Linked DNA regions of Homo sapiens: all the other regions are linked to region 1. The links are contacts of gene promoters, found by promoter capture Hi-C in human tissues and cell types (Jung and others, 2019). All regions are on one chromosome and are shown on one strand. Each heading gives the region's core, a stretch centred on a gene start or on the middle of the fragment in contact. The rest is flanking DNA. Distances are from core to core; before and after follow the strand shown. Region 1 holds the start of SPTBN2 (spectrin beta, non-erythrocytic 2). Region 2 overlaps KDM2A (lysine demethylase 2A). Region 3 has its middle 14 kb from the start of C11orf86. Region 4 overlaps SYT12 (synaptotagmin 12).

The links. Contacts are between HindIII fragments. The study calls those that stand out against the background at their distance.
Region 2: a contact is called between a fragment that was not itself captured here and the fragment with the promoter of SPTBN2 in region 1, in 1 of the 25 tissues and cell types used here (adrenal gland).
Region 3: a contact is called between a fragment that was not itself captured here and the fragment with the promoter of SPTBN2 in region 1, in 1 of the 25 tissues and cell types used here (pancreas).
Region 4: a fragment that was not itself captured here is called in contact with the fragment with the promoter of SPTBN2 in region 1 in 1 of the 25 tissues and cell types used here (thymus).

What each region holds. Positions count from the first base shown.
Region 1 is chr11:66,727,791-66,730,490 of GRCh38, reverse strand. It overlaps SPTBN2 (spectrin beta, non-erythrocytic 2), which reads left to right and starts at 1,275. Exons shown (of 38, transcript NM_006946.4): 1 at 1,275-1,750. The HindIII fragment of the contact is 42,487 bases long and covers 1-2,700 here.
Region 2 is chr11:67,187,828-67,190,527 of GRCh38, reverse strand. The region is part of intron 5 of KDM2A (lysine demethylase 2A); the gene reads right to left. Among named protein-coding and RNA genes, the nearest start is that of KDM2A, 70 kb to the right of the region's middle. The HindIII fragment of the contact is 3,563 bases long and covers 1-2,700 here.
Region 3 is chr11:66,988,307-66,991,006 of GRCh38, reverse strand. No RefSeq gene overlaps it. Among named protein-coding and RNA genes, the nearest start is that of C11orf86, 14 kb to the right of the region's middle. The HindIII fragment of the contact is 4,619 bases long and covers 1-2,700 here.
Region 4 is chr11:67,039,967-67,042,666 of GRCh38, reverse strand. SYT12 (synaptotagmin 12) reads right to left here. Exons shown (of 8, transcript NM_177963.4): 4 at 2,464-2,700. Among named protein-coding and RNA genes, the nearest start is that of MIR6860, 4.3 kb to the left of the region's middle. The HindIII fragment of the contact is 3,922 bases long and covers 1-2,700 here.

The DNA of each region.
Region 1 (2,700 bases), core at 26-2,525:
CTCCTGCCTCAGCCTCCTGAGTAGCTGGGATTTCATGCCCACCACCACGCCTGGCTAATTTGTGTATTTTTAGTAGAGAAGGGGTTTCACCATGTTGGCCAGGCTGGTCTTGAACTCCTGACCTCGCGATCCACCTGCCTCGGCCTCCCAAAGTGCTGGGATTACAAGGGTGAGCCACTGCGCCTGGCCATGGGCAGCTGATTCTCATCCCATCAGCTTTAATGTCCCTGACCAAGTGTCCCTGATGACCGTCATGCACAGGTTGGTGCCTCCTTCCCCCGAACCAACCAACACATAATCCTACCTCTGGGAAGAGTTGCAGTTTATGCCCTTGTTTCTTTAATGCCATTGCCTGAAAGAGTGGCTATTAAAAATAATAAATAGCCTCAGGCCTGGCACGGCAGCTCACGTCTGTAATCCCAGCACTTTGGGAGGCTGAGGCAGGCAGATCACCTGAGGTCAGGAGTTCAAGAACAGCCTGGCCAACATGGCAAAACTCTGACTCTACTAAAGATACAAAAATTAGTCGGGCATGGTGGCATGCACCTGTAATCCCAGCTACTCGGGAGGCTGAGGCAGGAAAATTGCTTGAACCCGGGAAGAGGAGGTTGCAGTGAGCCGAGATCAAGCCACTGTACTCCAGCCTGGGTGACAGAGCACGACTCCGTCTCAAAATAATAATAATAATAAATAGCCTCAAATGCAGCTAACTGTGAGGTACACACCAGAGAGCCAGTTCCAGTTTCGTGGTAGAAGCACAGATATCAGAGCTAGGAGAGAACTTCAAAGTAATCTTTCAATGGAACTCCCCAACCCTCCTCCCAACCCATTTTATAGACTAGGAAAACCAAGGCGAGGTAGATGACACCACTAGTTAGGGTTGTCAAAACCATATCTGGAAAGTACTTCAATTGCACATATTTGTTTCAGTATGCATACCTTTTCAGAAAGGAGCAAAATCCTAAATTACCCATAAATCTATTATAAAACCTTAAATCCAATAATTCACTCAAAGCCCATTCTTTGAGTGCCCTTACTTGACCATTTCAGGCATTCCCTGGATAGAAACGGGCCCTCATCTTCAGGGGCAGTACATAACCTAACGGCTCTGTACAAAGCTCACCCTGTTACCACTGGCTCATCTCTGAGCTGAGTTCTCTAATCTGGAAGAACAGCACCTACTTCTCAGAGCTGGAGTGGGGGTGGGAGTGTCACATGAGATGATGCGCTTTTAGCACCCACCTGGCACTCTGTGAGTTTGTCATGATTTGGGCATAATTCCTTCCTCTCCTAAGCAGGCAGCAGTTCACCTTGGTTAAGGACCTTGGACCTTAGACCACTCAGACGCTAACAAACCAAGGAGAAACCCAGCCGTGTCAGGCCTAGAAATGTCTGCCCCCACCCCCACCCCCCTCAAGACGGTGACTAGGCCGGAATTCTCCTGGTTGATAAATGAGAGGAGCTGAGAAGCGCTGAGATGCCTGTTTGGAGCATCTGATCTGTAGAAGACGAATCTTCACTGTGCCATGGAGATGTTCTGGGAGGGAGAGCCGGCCCAGCTGCCTGAAGGAGGACGCGAGAGCGAGGGGACGGGTGAGAGGAATGCTTAGCGGAGACGGACTGGAGGTGCCCGGAGAGGAAAGGGGAACGGAGGCTGGATCTCGGGAAACCTCGTCGGCAGTGTCATTAGAGGAAGGATCGCGTGTCTCGGGGATACGGATTTTGGAGGAAAAGCAGAATAGGGACAAAGGTGAGGTGTCCGAACCGGGGAGATCAAGACCTGTAAGCTGTGGTGGGGGACCCAGGGACCAGCGAGGACGGGAAGGCGGGGTTTTGGGGGGACCCCGCACGGAAGGTGGCTGGGGGTCGGCAGCCGGCCTCGGAGCTGCTGCCGCGTTCGCCCCGAGGCAGGTCAACTACCCCGGGCGGGGAGCGGCGGGGAGCACCGAGAGGGGCCTCGGTTGCCATGGCGCTGGGCGGGGAAGGGGCGACTCGGGCCCCGCCCAGAGCCCCGCGGGGCCGCCGGCTCCAGATGGTCCCGGGCCTCCCGCGGGAGCCGGCGGCCTGCGGCAGGGGGAGGCTATTGTCCTCCTTCCGCGGCGCCGCAGTCCCGCCGCTCGCGCCCGCGCGCCGCCGCCACGCGCCCCGCCGCCGCCCGCCCCGCGCGCCCCCCGCGCCGCCTGCGCCCCGTGACAGCGCCCGCCCGCCGCCCGCCGTGCGCCCGGCCGCTGCCTGCAACCGCCCGTCGCGGCCGGGCTGCAGGCGCGGCAACTACCGGTGCGCCCCCGCCCGCCGCGCCCCCGCCCGCCCGGCCGCGGCTCCGCGCCGAGGTAGGTGCCGGCGCCCCGCCCGCTTTGTCCCGGCCCGCGGGGCGGCGCGCTTTGTCCGGCCGCGTGCGGTCGGCGGGGTCGGGGTCGGGGTCGGGGTCGGGTCCCGGCGGCCGGGGTGAGCCGGGGCGGGAGCAGGCGGGGACGGGACGGAGAGGGTCCCGTGCCAGCCACACAGGTACCGGGATGAGGGCGGTGGGGGCCAAGGCCGAGGGGGGGGGACTCGGGCCTCTCTGGAGCCGGGAGAAGAGTCTGGAACAGTTAGGGCTGACGGACACGTTCGCGGCGAGGCTGGGAGCGGGTCTGACAGCGCCGGCCCCTCGCGTCGCCGGGGCTGCGGGGCGGACGGGCCGGCGCCGGGCCAGGTGCTGGG
Region 2 (2,700 bases), core at 177-2,676, 460 kb before region 1:
TTGGCTTCCCAAAGTGCTAGGATTACTGGAATGAGCCACCACGCATAGTATTCTCTTACAATCCTTTTTATTTCTACAGAATTGGAAGTAATGTCCTCACTTTCACTTTCTTTTTTTGAGTCGGAGGTTTGCTCTTGTCACCCAGGCTGGAGTGCAGTGGTGCAATCTTGGCTCGCTGCAACCTCTGCTTCCTAGGTTCAAGCCATTCTCCTGCCTCAGCCTCCTGAGTAGCTGGGATTACAGGCATGTACCACCACATCCAGCTAATTTATGTATTTTTAGTAGAGACAGGGTTTCATCACATTGGCCAGGCTAGTCTCGAACTCCTCACCTCAGGTGATCCACCCGCCTCGGCCTCCCAAAGTGCTGGGATTATAGGTGTCAGCCACCGCGCTCGGCCCTCACTTTCACTTCTGATTTTAGTAATTCGATCTTTCTTTCCTTAGTCCATCTGGCTAAATAAAGCTTTGTCAATTTTGTTTATCTTTTCAAAGAAGAACCACCTTTTGGTTTCTTTGACTTTTCTCTATTGTTTTTCTATTCTTTATTTCATTTATCTCTAATCTTTATTACTTCCTTTAGCTTTAGGTTTAGTTTGTCCTTTTTCTAGTTATTTAAGTTGTAAGGTTAGGTTGTTGATTTTAAGTTTCTCTTCTTTTGTTAAAGAGACTGGTGTTTGTTTGTTTTTTGACACAGAGTCTCACTTTGTTGCCCCGGCTGGAGTGCAATGTGCGATCTTGGCTCACTGCAACCTCCGCTTCCCAGGTTCAAGTGATTCTCCTGCCTCAGCCTCCCGAGTAGCTGGGACTACAGGTGTCCACCATCATGCCTGGCTAATGTTTGTATTTTTAGTAGAGATGGGGTTTCGCCATGTTGACCAGGCTGGTCTCGAACTCCTGACCTCAGGTGATCCACCGGCCTCAGCCTGCCAAAGTGCTAGGATTACAGGCGTGAGCCACCTCGCCCGGCCGAGATAAGGTCTTGCTATGTTGCCCAAGCTGGCCTCAAAATCCTGGGCTCAAGCAATCCTCCTGCCTCAGTCTCCCAAGTAGCTGGAACTATAGGCACATGCTACTGCAATCAGTGATTCCGTGTTTTATAATCAAAGCATTTATAGCTACAAATTTCTCCTTTAATGTTGCTTTCACTGATCCCTATAAGTTTTGGTAGGCTGTGTTGTGTTCATTCATCTATAAGTATTTTCTAATTTCCATGTGATTTCTTCTTTGATTCACTGATTGTTAAATTCCACAATTTTGTGACCTTTCCAGTTTTACCTGTTATTGATTTTTAACTTCATCCCATTGTGGTTGGAGAAGATACTTTGATATCTATTTTTTAAATCCACTGATATTTAATCTGTAGCCTAACATATGGTGTATCCTGGAAAATGTCCTACATACACTTGAAAAGAATGTGTATGCTATTGCTGTTAGGTAGGATTCTGTCTGTGTCTGTGAGATCTAGTTGGTTTACTGTGTTAAGTCCACTATTTCCTTACTTATTTTCTGTCTGGTTGTTCTATCCATTATTGAGAGGGGGTACTGAAGTCTCCAGGTATTACTGTATAGAAATGTCTACTTCTCCCTTCAGTTCTGTCAGGTTTTCCTTTGGGTATACTGATGGTCTGTCGTTAGGTACATAAATGTTTGTAATTGTTATATCTTCTTGCTATAGTTAAACCTTTAATTAATATATGTCTTTGCCTCTTGAAACATTTTTTTTTTTTTTTTTTTTGAGACAGTGTCTTGCTCTGTCACCCAGGCTGGAGTGAAGTGGCACAATCTCAGGTCACTGCAGCTTTGACCTGCCAGGCTCAAGTGACACTCCCACCTCAGCTTCCTGAGTAGCTTAGACTACAGGCATGTGCCACCATGCTTGGATTATTTTTATTTTTTTGGTAGAGACGAGGTCTCACCACGTTACCCAGGGTAGTCTCAAACTCCTGGGCTTAAGCAATCTTCCCGCCTTGGCCTCCCAAAGTTGGGATTACAGACGTGTGAGGCACCATGCCCAACCATTTTTTCTTTCTTTTTTTTTTTTTTTGAGACAGAGTCTTGCTCTGTCGCCCAGGCTGGAGTGCAGTGGCGCGATCTCAGCTCAGTGCAAGCTCTACCTCCCGGGTTCACGCCATTCTCCTGCCTCAGCCTCCCGAGTCGCTGGGACTACAGGCGCCTGCCACCACACCCGGCTAATATTTTGTATTTTTAGTAGAGACGGGGTTTCACCGTGTTAGCCAGGATGGTCTCGATCTCCTGACCTTGTGATCTGCCTGCCTCGGCCTCCCAAGGCAAGTGCTGGGATTACAAGCGTGAGTCACTGCGCCCAGCCTCTTTCTTTCAAGACACAGGGTCTTGGCTCTGTCACCCAGGCTGGACTACAGTGGTGTGATCAGAACAGCCTCAAACTCCTGGGCTCAAGCCTTCCAAGTGGCTAGGAGCACAGGCATGCAACACCATGCCCAGCCAACTTTTAAAATTACTATTATTATTTTTTTTATAGACATGAGGTCTTGGTATGTTGCCCAGGCTGGTCTCTGAATTCCTGGCTTCAAGCAGTCCTGCCTCAGCCTCCCAAAGTGCTGGGATTTTAGGTGTGAGGCACCATACCAGGCCCCTCTTGGAACCATTCTTTGATTTAAGGTCTGTTTTAGGGCCCGGTGCCATGGCTCACGCCTATAATCCCCAGCACCTTGGAAGG
Region 3 (2,700 bases), core at 49-2,548, 260 kb before region 1:
TCTCAAGTTCCGCTACCTGACCCAAGTAAGCCTCCTTCCATGAAGTTTCCTAAACTCTTTTGGATGCTGAAACCTCATTCAATAAGTCATTCATTCATTCAAGTCAGTTAACAACTTTTTTTTTTTTTTTGAGGTGGAGTCTCACTCTGTTGCCCAGGCTGGAGTGCAATGGCATGATCTCGGCTCACTGCAACCTCCACTTCCCAGGTTCAAGCGATTCTCTTGCCTCAGCCTCCCAAGTACCTGAGATTACAGGCATGCACCACCACAACTGGCTAATTTTTATATTTTTAGTAGAGACGGGGTTTCTCCATGTTGGTCAGACTGTTCTCAAACTCCCGACCTCAGGTGATCCGCCCACCTCAGCCTCTCAAAATGCTGGGATTATAGGTCTGAGCCACCATGCCCGGCCTCAGTTAACAGCTATTAAATGAGCATCTATTAAGCACCAGGTATTGGGAATACAGCAGGACACAAAACATATCAAATTCCTGTCTCATGGAGCTGACATTCTGGTGGGGGAGACGATAAGTAAATGTCAGCCAGAATAAACAGGTAAGGAACAGAGAGAAAGGATGGGTTGGGGAGAGCTGGGTTTGTTGTTGTTGTTGTTGGAGACTGAGTTGTTGGAGGCTGGAGTGCAGTGGCACAATCTTGGCTGACTGCAACCCCACCTCCCGGGTTCAAGCAATTCTCCTGCCTCAGCCTCCCGAGTAGCTAGGATTACAGGAGTGTGCCACCATGCCAGGCTAATTTTTGTATTTTTAGTAGAGATGGGGTTTTGCCATGTTGTGCAGGCTGGTCTCGAACTCCTGGCCTCAAGTGTTCCATCCACCTCAGACTCCAAGAGTGCTGGGATTGCATCTGGAATTGGTGGGTTCTTGGTCTCACTGACTTCAAGAATGAAGCCGCGGACCCTCGCAGTGAGTGTTACAGCTCTTAAGGTGGTGCTTCTGGAGTTTGTTCCTTCTGATGTTCAGATGTGTTCGGAGTTTCTTCCTTCTGGTGAGTTCGTGGTCTCGCTGGCTCAGGAGTGAAGCTACAGACCTTCGCGATGAGCTCCTAAGGCAGTGCCGCCTGGAGTTGTTCGTTCCTCCCGGTGGGCTCATGGTCTCGCTGGCTTCAGGAGTGAAGCTGTAGACCTTCGCGGTGAGTGTTACAGCTTATAAAAGCAGTGTGGACCCAAAGAGTGAGCAGTAGCAAGATTTATTGCAAAGAGCAAAAGAACAAAGCTTCCACAGTGCAGCAGGCGACCCTAGTGGGTTGCCACAGCCGGCTCCCGCAGCCTGCTTTTATTCTCTTATCTGGCCCCACCCACATCCTGCTGATTGGTAGAGCCCAGTGGTCTGTTTTGACAGGGCGCTGATTGGTGCCTTTACAATCCCTGAGCTAGATACAAAGGTTCTCCACGTCTCCATCAGATTAGTTAGATACAGTTTCGACACATAGGTTCTCCAAGGCTCCACCAGATCAGCTAGATAGAGTGTCAATTGGTGCATTCACAAACCTTGAGCTAAACACAGGGTGCTGATTGGTGTGTTTACAAACCTTGAGTTAGATACAGAGTGCCGATTGGTGTATTTACAATCCCTGAGCTAGACGTAAAGGTTCTCCAAGGCCCCGCCAGAGCAGTTAGATACAGAGTGTCCATTGGTGCACTCACAAACCTTGAGCTAAACACAGGGTGCTGATTGGTGTATTTACAATCCCTGAGCTAGACATAAAGACTCTCCACGTCCCCACCAGACTCAGGAGCCCAGCTGGCTTCACCTAGTGGATCCCGCACCGGGGCTGCAGGTGGAGCTGCCTGCCAGTCCCGCGCCGTGCGCTCGCATTCCTCAGCCCTTGGGTGGTCGATGGGACTGGGCGCCTTGGAGCAGGGGGTGGTGCTCGTCGGGGAGGCTGGGCCGCACAGGAGCCCACGGAGGGGGTGGCAGGCTCAGGCATGGCGGGCTGCAGGTCCCGAGCCCTGCCCCGCGGGAAGGCAGCTAAGGCTCGTGAGAAATCGAGCGCAGTGCCGGTGGGCTGGCACTGCTGGGGGACCCGGTACACCCTCCGCAGCCGCTGGCCCGGGTGCTAAGTCCCTCATTGCTCGGGGCCAGCAGGGCTGGCCGGCTGCTCCGAGTGGGGGGCCCGCCAAGCCCACGCCCACCCGGAACTCCAGCTGGCCCGCAAGAGCCCCGTTCCCGCTCGCGCCTCTCCCTCCACACCTCCCTGCAAGCTGAGGGAGTGGGCTCCAGCCTTGGCCAGCCCAGAAAGGGGCTCCCACAGTGCAGTGGTGGGCTGAAGGGCTCCTCAAATGCCGCCAAAGTGGGAGCCCAGGCAGAGGAGGTGCCGAGAGCAAGCGAGGGCTCTGAGGACTGCCAGCACGCTGTCACCTCTCAGGATTACAGGGATGAGCCACCTCGCTCAGCCAAGACCTGTTTTTGGTAGAGGTCAAGGAAGGCCTCTGTGATGAGGCAATTAATGAGCAGAGAGGCAAGGAAGTGAGGCAGGCATTTCGGGGAAGGTATTTCAGGTAGACGGAAGGGCAAGTGCAAAGGTCCTGAGGTGGGATGTGTGTTGGGTTCCGGGAACAACAAGGGGCCAGGGTGAGTGGAGCCGAGGGAGAGGCCTCCTGATGAATTTGGAGGCACCCAGAGGGTAGAGTGTCATGGGCCGTGGAATTTACTCTGCATGAACAGGGAAGCCATTTCTGAA
Region 4 (2,700 bases), core at 31-2,530, 310 kb before region 1:
CTCAGCTGTCCCCTGCTCATGGGGGCCTGGGCTCCCCAACCAGCCATTCTCTGAGCGTGTGCTTTATGTGCACATGGGTGGAGGAGGATGGAACCCTGGGTTTGAGTCCTGGACCTCCTGCTTCCTTACTGGCGTTGTCTTGGGCAAAGCACTTTCCCGAGCCTCGGTTTCCTCATCTGTAAGATGCCCTAACAATCTGTCCTGTTGGCGTCAGGGGCTAATGAGAGAATCATGGATGCACTGGGCTCTGTGAACCAGGTTCTCAGCACACATCAGGCTGTGGCGGCTGCTGTCTGCCAATGTCTCTCCTCAAGGAATGCGTCCCCAAACCACAGGCAACATGGCTGGGCACGACAGGAGCTCTGCACGGTCCTGAGAGCCAACCTGCTAGGCACTGACCCAGGCTGGGCTAAGAACTTCACATACATTAACCCATCTCTTCCTCAATAACCATGATGCCCATTTGACAGATGGGGAAACGGAGTCATGGGGTACTAAACTGACTTAACCAAGATCATACTGCTAGGAAGAGGTGGAACAAGGATTTGAACCCAGGCAGTCAGGCTCCAGGGTCCTGCTCCTAATCGCCCACTATACTGCCTCTCAGAAGCTGGGCCACCCCAACTTGATGCCCTAAACACGCCCTCCTCGCACTCTGCTCACAGGCTATCCCCACCCTTCAGCCCAGATGTGGCTCTGTTGGCTTGGTTCTGTGAGTTACAGCGATGTGTGGAGGGTAGCCTAAGGGACTGGGCACCTTCCCTGCCCCTCACGCTTTATTCTCCACCCTTCCCCCCTCTGCTCTGGCCCTGAGAGTTGACCTCCATGGGCTGTGTCAACAGGTTCCCTTGGCCTTTGGCTTCTGGTTGGGTCAGCCAGTGGAGGTCACCAGAAGGAAACTGGAGGGGGAGGGAAGTCCCTCTCTGCAGTATTGTTGCGGGATGACCATGTCCCTTGGCCAAAGGGCAGAGCTTCCACCAAGGTAGCCCTCTCCACACAAGGTGGCCCTCTATCCTTTTGGGCCCAGTAACCTCACCTTCCCCTCACCCCTTCAGATCTAGAGTGGGACAGCCCCTCCTGTTACGCCCTTCCAGGGTACCATGCCATCCCTGAGGCTGCCCCACACCCCATCCGCACCACTCTAAATGGTCTTATTATTTTCATTTTTAAAATTTATTTATTTATTTATTATTTTTGAGACGGAGTCTCACTCTGTCGCCCAGGCTGGAGTGCAGTGGCATGATCTCGGCTCATTGCAACCTCCGCCTCCTGAGTTCATGCAATTCTCCTGCCTCAGCCACCTCAATAGCTGGGATTACAGGTGTGCACCACATGCCCTGCTAATTTTTGTATTTTTAGTAGAGACGGGGTTTCACCATATTGGCCAGGCTGGTCTCAAACATCTGACCTCAGGTGATCCACCTGCCTCAGCCTCCAAAGGGCTGGGATTACAGGTGTGAGCCACTGCACCTGGCCCTATTTTTATTTTTTGAGATAGGGTCTCATTCTGTCACCCAGGCTGGAGTGCAGTGGTGCAATCGTGGCTCATTGCAGCCTCAACCTCCTGGGCTCAAGTGATCCTCCCATCTCAGCCTCCCAAGTAGCTGGGACTATAAATTAGCTGGCACTACCACAGCCAGCTAATTTATTTTATTTTATTTTATTTTTTTTGGTAGAGAAGGAGTTTTGCCATGTTGCCTAGGCTGGCCTTGAACTCCTGGTTAGGCTCAAGCAATCCTCCCACCTTGGCCTCCCAAAGTGCTGGGATTACAGGCATGAATCACTGTACCTGGACAGTCCTGTTTTATTTTTATTTATTTATTTATTTTGAGACAGAGTCTCCCTCTGTCGCCCAGGCTGGAGTGCAGTGGCACGATCTCGGCTCACTGCAAGCTCTGCCTCCCAGGTTCACGCCATTCTCCTGCCTCAGCCTCCCGAGTAGCTGGGACTACAGGTGCCCGCCACCACGCCCGGCTAATTTTTTGTATTTTAGTAGAGATGGGGTTTCACCGTGTTAGGCAGGATGGTCTCGATCTCCTGACCTCATGATCTGCCCGCCTCGGCCTCCCAAAGTGCTGAGATTAGAGGCATGAGCCACCACAACCAGCCCCAGTCCTGTTATTAAGCCCTCCCCAAATTAGCCTTCTTAAGCATGTCATCCCTTTTCTGCCGGGACCCCATGTTGACACAGGGCAGATGTGGACAACGACAGTTGCCACATTCTGTATTCACCTGGTGGGACCGCTAAGAACTCCACACAATGGGAGCCTTCAGGTGGAGCCCCCCACCTCCCAGCTCTGTACAGAGCTCCCTCTACAGTCTGAAGCTTCAGCTCTGGGATCAGCATCCATACTTGCACTCTACTGCCTTTCTGGGATCCTGCCGGGCCCCACCGCCATGCCTGCCTGGGAGGCATCTAGTGAGCCCAGAGCACCCTTCTGCCCCGCCCTGAGCCCCACTTACCCGAGAAATGCCCACGATCTGCTCGTCCGGCAGCAGGCTGACGCGCATGAAGCAGGACTCGAAGCTGGCCTCCTCCCGCTCCAGGAGGTCCTTGCCCTGCATCACCGCCACGTTCAGCGTGTGGGAGGCAGTGTCGTACTCCATGCTCACCTCCACCTGGCCCAGTGTGAAGTCCTGCCCAAAGGTGTTGCTCACGGAGGAGATGGAGTTCAGGGAGTCGGCCGACTGGGACTTCCG